Linked DNA regions of Homo sapiens: region 1 is linked to region 2. The links are contacts of gene promoters, found by promoter capture Hi-C in human tissues and cell types (Jung and others, 2019). All regions are on one chromosome and are shown on one strand. The core of a region is centred on a gene start or on the middle of the fragment in contact, and the rest is flanking DNA. Distances in the headings are between cores, read along the strand shown. Region 1 has its middle 12 kb from the start of MRGPRX4. Region 2 holds the start of PTPN5 (protein tyrosine phosphatase non-receptor type 5).

What was found. The method cuts DNA at HindIII sites, captures the fragments that hold promoters and counts their contacts. A contact is called where the count stands out against the background at its distance.
Region 1: a fragment that was not itself captured here is called in contact with the fragment with the promoter of PTPN5 in region 2 in 1 of the 25 tissues and cell types used here (spleen).

What each region holds. Positions count from the first base shown.
Region 1 is chr11:18,183,121-18,187,115 of GRCh38, forward strand. No RefSeq gene overlaps it. Among named protein-coding and RNA genes, the nearest start is that of MRGPRX4, 12 kb to the left of the region's middle. The HindIII fragment of the contact is 3,276 bases long and covers 1-3,196 here.
Region 2 is chr11:18,789,747-18,793,813 of GRCh38, forward strand. It overlaps PTPN5 (protein tyrosine phosphatase non-receptor type 5), which reads right to left and starts at 2,052. Exons shown (of 15, transcript NM_006906.2): 1 at 1,779-2,052. The HindIII fragment of the contact is 10,569 bases long and covers 757-4,067 here.

The DNA of each region.
Region 1 (3,995 bases), core at 309-2,808, 610 kb before region 2:
GCATATGCATATACACACACACACACACACACACACACACACACACACCATGGATTACTACTCAGCCATAAAAAGGAACAAAATAATGGCATTCACAGCAATCTGGATGGAGTTGGAGACCATTACTCTAAGTGAAGTAACTCAGGAATGGAAAACCAAACATTGGATGTTCTTACTTGTAAGTAGGAGCTAAGCTATCAGGACACAAGGGCATAAGAATGATACAATGGACTTTGGGGACTGGAGGAAAAAGAGTGGGAGGTAGGTGAGGGATAAAAGACTACACACTGGGTACAGTATACACTGTTCTGGTGATGGGTACATCAAAATCTCAGAAATCACCACTAAACTACTTATCCATGTAACCAAACACCACCTGTTCTCCAAAAACTTATCGAAGTAAAAAAATAAAATGTATAATCTCAGCTATTTTCAAATGTGTACTACATTATTATTTACTATATTTACCACACTATGTAATATATCTCAAAGAAAAAAATTATTCCTCCTATTTAATTAAGGTTTTATACTCTTTGACCGTCAATCATTTCTCCATGGGTGTTGAAATTTGTCAAATCCTTTTTCTCTGTTTATTGAGATATTCACATAATTTTTCTCCTTTAATCTGTTAATGTGGCAAATTTCACTGATTGATTTACAAATGTTAAACAAACATTGCACTACTGAGATAAACCCCACTAGCCATTCTGTATTATCCTTTTGATATATTTCAGGATTCTACCTGCTACTACTGTGTTAAGAATTTTTGCATCTATATTCATAAAGAATTTTGGTCTGTAGTTTCCTTATTGGTAATATCTTTTCCAGATTTCACTATTAAAGATATACATGGTCTCATAAAATAAGTTGGAGAATATTCTTTCCTTCTGAAATTTATGATAAAATATTTGTATAAATTTGATATGATTTTTCCCTTTAAATATCAACAGAATTTATCCAAGCCTTCTGGATCTAAATTTTTGCATGTGCATGTGTGGAAAGTTTTAATTAAAAATGTAGTATCTTGGCCAGGTGCAGTGGCTCATGCCTGTAATCCCAGAACTTTGGGAGGCCAAGGCGGGCGGATCACCTGAGGTCAGGAGTTCAAGACCAGCCTGGCCAACATGATGAAACCCCATCTCCACTAAAAATACAAAAATTAGCCAGGTTTGGTGGTGTGCGCCTGTAATCCCAGCTACTCAGGAGGCTGAGGCAAGAGAATCATTTGAACCCGGGAGGCAGAGGTTGCAGCACTCCAGCCTGGGTGACAGAGTGAGACTTCATTAAAAAAAACAACAACTATATATATATATATCTTTCACAGACATACAGCTATTCACATTTTCTATTGCTTCTCATGTCAGTTTTGGTGAGTTATGTCTTTCAAGAAAAGTGTCCCTTTCATCTAAGCTTTGAATTTATTGACATAAGTTTGTTCGTGATAGTTCTCTATTATCCTTTTAATGTCTTTAGAGACTATAGCAATATTCCCACTCTCATTCTTGATAATGATGTTATTTTCTCTTTGTTTATTGTTCAGTATTGCTAAAAATTTATGAATATCATTAATCTTTTCATGGTACTATCACAGCTTTGATTTTATCTCTATTGCTTGTTTTCTGTTTCACTGATTTCTGCTCTTTATTGTTTCTTTTTATTTTGGTCTTAATTTGTTCATGTTTTTTATACTTCTGAAGCTTGAAGGTTAGATCTTGATTTTTTTAATTATTAAGTGTTTGATAGAATTCACCAGTGTGGCCATGTGTGCCTGGAGCTTTCTTTGTAGAAGAGTTTTTAATTATAAATTCAATTTCCTTAGTAGATACAGGATTATTTGCAATTACTGTATCTTCTTGATCAATTTTGGGAAGGTGCGTTTTTAAAAGAGTACTTCTATTTCTTCTAAATTGTCAAATTTTGACAAAAAATCATTCAAAGGAGCTTTTTATTTCTGTATTTTTAATACTGGTAGTACGTACCATGATAGTCTCTCTTTGATTCCCAGTGTGAGTTTTGTGTTTTCTCTATTTATATTTTTCTTCATTGGTATTGCTAGGAATTTATCAATTTTATTATCTTTTCAAAAATATAAATTTCATCATTATTGTTATTTTTCTATTGTACCTTTGCTTTTTTTTTTTTTTTGAGACGGAGTCTCGCTCTATCGCCCAGGCTGGAGTGCAGTGGCGTGATCTCAGCTCACTGCAAGCTCTGCCTCCCGGGTTCATGCCATTCTCCTGCCTCAGCCTCCCGAGTAGTTAGGACTACTGGTGCCTGCCACTATGCCCGGCTAATTTTTCTTTTTTTTTTTTTTTTTGGATTTTTAGTAGAGACGGGGTTTCACCATGTTAGCCAGGATGGTCTCGATCTCCTGACCTCGTGATCCTCCCGTCTTGGCCTCCCAAAGTGCTGGGATTACAGGCGTGAGCCACCGCACCTGGCCCCTTTGCTTTTTACTTTTTTTTCCAATCTTTATTATTTCCTTCCTTTTACAGTAGTTCCATCTTATCTTTAAGGGATAAATTCCAAGACCCCCACTGGTTGTATGAAAAGTGTTTCAATTGACAGCAACCAAAACACATTTCTGTTCACCTCTTCAACACAAAAATTTAATGCTTTTTCTATCTTAATTAAGTAATCGTCATGTAATGTGGCCATAGCTTTTGCAGTTTGAGGTGCAACAGCAAAACCAGCATGATTTTTTTTTGCCTCCTTTATGATGTAACTAGTTTTTACTGTAGACCTTAGCAGCCTCCACATTCTATTTTTTTTCTTCCTTATTAAGTTGTAAACTTTCACCTTTACTTAGAGGGAGCACTCTATCACTTCTCTTTGGCGTATCTGAATTGCCAGCATCCCTATTTCTAATGCTTTGGAGCCATTAATAAGTAAAATAAAGTTTACTTGAACACAAGCACTGTGATACCACAACAACTGATCTAGCAACTGAGAGGGCTACAAATGGATGGATAGGGTACACAGCATGGATATGCTAGGCAAAGGGGTGAATCACATCCCAGGAAGGACAGAGCAGGACCACAAGAGATTTCATCACACTATTCAAAGTGGTACATAATTTTAAACATATGAATTATTTATTTCTGGAATTACTGAATGGAGAAAATCTGCTTACCTTTTAAAAACAAACAACTCTTTATTTCATTGATTTTTTCTTTTGTTTTTCTAGTCTTCTTTTCACTTATTTCTGCTCTGATCTTTATTATTTCCTTCCTTCTACTAATTTTGCAAAGTATACATTTGATAAAGGATTAGCATCCAAAATATTTAAGAGACTCCAACAACTCAATAGCAATAAAACAAATGAACCAGTGAAAAAGTGGGCAAAAGAACTGAATAGATATCTCTGAAAAGAAGACTCAAAAATGACCAATAGATACAAGAAAAAATGTGCAATGTAACTAATCATCAGGGAAATGCAAATCAAAACCACAATGAGATATCATTTCTCCAGTTAGAATGGCTACTATCAAAAATACAAAAGATGACAAGTATTGTAGAGGATGTGGAGAAAAGAGAACCCTCATACACTGTTGGTGGGAATGTATTTTAGTACAGCCATTAGGGAAAGCAGTATGGAAGTTCCTCAAAATATTAAAAATAGAACTACCATATATTCAGAAATCCTGCTCCTGGGTTGATATCCAAGGGAAATGAAATCAGTATATTGAAAAGATATCTGCATCCCCATGTTTCTTGCAGCACTATTTACAATGGCCAAGATATGGAATTAACCTAAGTGCCCATCAACAGATAAACTGATGAAGAAAATGTGGTACATATTCACAATGGAATACTATTTAGCCTTAAAAAAGAATGAAATTCTATCATTTCTAGTGACTTGGGTAAGCCAGAGGACATTCTGTTAAGTGAAATATGCAAGGCACAGGAAGAAAAATAGTGCATGATCTCACTCATATGTAGAATCTAAACGAGGTGATCTCACAGAAATTGAGAGTAAAATGGTGGTTGCCATA
Region 2 (4,067 bases), core at 802-3,301:
GGATGCAAAGGCATAAGAATGACACAATGGACTTTGGGGACTTGGGGGAAAGGTGGGAGGTGGATGAGGGATGAAAGACTACACATTGGGTTCAGTGTATACTCTGGGTGATGGGTGCACCAAATTCTCACAAATCACCGTTAAAGAACTTACTCACGAAACCAAATACCACCTGTTCCCCAAAAATCTATGGAAATAAAATAAAAAAAGGAAGTTCTTGAGACCAGAACCTCAGGTCCCTGGAGACTGAACACTGCCCTCCTTGCCAACTATTCCATCCAGTCTCCTCCAAGGTGACTGACTCCATCCCTTCACCATCCGTCTATGCTTGTACTCCTTCAACACATCTCTCGGGGCACCCTCTCTGCACCAGGCATCAGGCTCAGCTCTGGGGACACCTGGCTGCCCTTGAGGGAGCCGCGTGCTGAGAAACCACCCGAACCTGGTGTGATTGTAACTCAAGCTTCCCCAGCAGCTTTGTCAGCAGCACCAAGAGGCTGCCCTTAACGAGCCCCAAGGAGAAAGAGGTGGGGACCTCCGCAAAGGGATGACTACAGGGGCCTGGTTGGAGTAGAAGATCTGGCCCTCAAGCGGGAGGGAAGGGTGACTGGGAGGGCATGCAGTCAGGACACAGTGGAGAAGAGGACGAATCCTGGGATGCCACATCACCTGGTCCAACTGAGGACACTCAGGCTCAGTGTGTCCTGGGTGGATCAGGACTAACGCCTGGGAATCTGATCTCAGGTCCTGGGCTTCTTCATTCTCCCAAACGAATCCCAAACCCGGAGTGTTTGAGTGTTATGAGAGCTCTCCTTTGAGGTTGAAGGAAGCAAATTAAAGCCCCCTCTCCCCTTTTTTTGGTACCATAGGTAGGGAAGGTAGAAAATGAATGGCACCTGCCCCTCCAAGTGGGGCAGGGCTGGAATTACACACTTTCGTGGTACACTCAGGTGAATTTTGGGGTTCTGGGGCTTCAATGTGGGTGGGATCTAGTTGTGTAGGAGGGGAGCATGAGTATGAAAACCAGGAACCCTAGATTCTAATGAAAGCTTTACCACTAACTCTCTGGTGACCTTGGTCCGCCACCTTACTGGGCCTCAGTTTCCCCATCTGTAAAATGAGAAGGTTGAATAAGTTCCCAGGATTCGTCTGGCCCTGATCTTCTAAGCCCTGTGATCCTTGATAAGGTAAGCCTCCCAAGGCTCTGACCCGGGCAATCTCCGGTTTTGCAGGAGCCTGGGCCTCAACCAGAAACAAGCAGCATGCTGGGGGAGGGGAGCGCGCTAAGCTTGTATTCTAGGGGAGGGTGGGACGCGGGAGGCTAAAGCTAAAGGGTCGGTGGAGGCGAAGCAATGGGAAGGCTGGGAGCCGCGCTTTAGAGGCCAGAAGGCTAGCGGCGATTTCCAATCTCCCTCAGGGGCTTCAGGCTCCGGAGAGGCGATGCAGCCCAGAGCCGCGCACCAGCCTCCGCCGGCCGCAGAGGCTCAGACCCCAAACCACTATCCCGATTCCTCCCCGGAACCGCGCACGGGCTTCGTGGGGAGTGGCTGCCGCTCCCTCCCGGCTACCAAGCGACAAGCCCCCTCCTCTGCATGGGGGACCCCTCCCCCAGCATGCGGGCGCCCAGAGCCCCACGGGGGCGTGGCGGGGGCGGGCGCCGGCTCCTCGGCCGGGAGGGCTGGAGAAGGTGTCAGTTGCGGGGCCGCCCGAAGGAGGGACCCGCGCCCTCCACCTTCCGGCTCCGCACACAAAGGCGCAGACGGAGGCGCCGCACTTACCGGCCAGAGCGGGCTCCGGGCGCCGGCGAGCAGGCGGGCAGGCTGGCGGGAGGATGCGCGCGCGAGTGTGCGTGTGTCTGCGTGTGTCCCTGCTTGTGTCTGTGCCAGTGTGTATGCGACGGGGGCCGCGCCGAGCTCTGTGCGTCTGCGTGTGCGGGGGCGTCCGTCCTTCGGTGCCTCCGTCCTTCGGTCCGTCCGCCTGGCGCTCCGTCCCGCGCTCCGTGCGCGCTCCCTCGCCCGACCGCCTCACCAAATGCGCTTCAGCTGCAGAGTCGCTGGCGCAGCCGCCGGGTGGGTTTGGCACCCCCCAGCCCCGGCTCCGCCCCGCCCCCGGGCGGGCTTCCGCCGCTCGCCGGGAATTGCGCAGGGCTGGCGGGGCGGGGGACCGGGAGAGCGGCCTGCTCCCGGGGCACGAAGGGGGCCGGATCACAGACCCTTAACCCCTGACCTCATCTCAGGTGCCTCCCTCTCCCGAGCAACTCTGCGCGGAGTCTCCGCAGTCGTCGCCCCCATGCCAAGGTTGCTTGGACAAGGAGGGCGGAGGAGTGGGAGCAGCGCATCCATTTCATTCATGATTTTTTCTCCTCTTGGGAGCCCCGGGTCGGGCCGCGCGGCTACGGCAACTGCCAGAGGGACCCCGGCAGGGCCGTGCGCGCTGAACCTGGGACGGGACAGACAGGCAGACAGAAGGAGTAGGGGCCAGCGAGACAAAGGGGGCAGAGTTGGGGGAGGGAGTCGGCTCATTGGGGGCATGCCGTGGCGCTCCCCGCATGTTGCCAACACCTGCGCAAGTGGAGCGGCCCCATACTAGGGCGCATGCAATACCAGGTGCCGAGGACTCGTTCTAGGACGCTGAGGAGGCGTCCTTTTTCCCAGTTCTCCCTGTTCAGCCTCTGGGGAGCTAGAGCGAGTGGACAGCCCCTCCCTCCACTGAGTCTTGCCCTCCTGACGTGCGGCGCGGGGCACGCACCTGTTTTGGTTTTCTCGTGGGCACCAGGGGCCCGGACGAGCAGGGAGCTGCCCATGTGCCCCACAATCCTGCCACAATCTTCCGTATTCTCCAGGCTGCTAGTGCGCTGGCCAGAGGTTTCCGGCATTCCATCCCCATGGGGGCTTGAGGCTGTGGGCTGCACACAGGGCAGGGATCCTAAACTCCATTTTTTACACGGGGAATCAGAGGCGAGCCACCACGTAGCTACCACCCTGGTTCCAGCCACCATCCACCCCCGCCCCCCGGGATTTCCATTATAGTCTCTTTACTGGTCTCCCAGCTTCCACCCTTGGCCCCCTGCAGCTGATTCTCTACACAGCAGTCAAGGCGATCCTTTAAAATTTAAGTCAGAGCACGTCGTTCCTTTACTGGAAATCCTACACTAGCACTCCATTTCATCCAAGGGAAAGTTAAAGGCCCCTCATGACCTGCAAAGCCCTTCAGGAACTGGCTCCTTTTTAGCTCTTTAACCTCTCTTTCTACCACCCTCCCCCTTCTCCCACGCTCCAGTCACATTGGCCTTTTTAATGCATCATCGGCGTGGCAGCCCTGTGGCCTCAGGACCTTTGCACTGCTGGTCTGTCTGCCTGGAAACTCTTCCCTCTGATAGTCACACGGCTACTCCTTTACCTCTTCAAAGTGTCACTCCCCCCACCCCCCCGCCCCCGAGACGGAGTCTTGCTCTGTCGTCCAGGCTGGAGTGCAGTGGCTCCATCTCAGCTCACTGCAACCCCTGCCTCCTGGGTTCAAGCGATTCTCCTGTCTCAGCCTTCCGAGTAGCTGGGACTACAGGCGCCCGCCACCATGCCCAGCTAATTTTTGTATTTTTAGTTGAGACGGGGTTTCGCCATGTTGGCCGGGCTGGTCTCGAACTCCTGACCTCATGATCCGCCCGTCTTGGCCTCCCAAAGTGCTGGGATTACAGGCGTGAGCCACCCTGCCCAGGCTCAATGTGTCGCTTCTAAGATAATTGCTGTAACTATCCTGTTTAAAGTTGCTGGCCCTCCCTCCTCATTTTCTCCATGCAGCTATGACTTTTATTTCTGTTCCCTGCCCCTGAGGCTCACTGGCTTCATTGCCAGCTCCCATCTCAATCCCCTCCCATCCCAATCCTTCAGCCTCACCTCACTAATCTGTTTTTTAAACAAACCCTGTGTTTTCCTGTCTCTAGGCCTTTGTTCACGTTGTCCCTGTTCAGTCTGGAATGCCATCCCTCCCATGTCTTGACTAATTTTTAAGGTCCAGCTTAAATACCACCTCCTTCTCCCCACATTTCCAGGGACACTCAGCTCTCATTA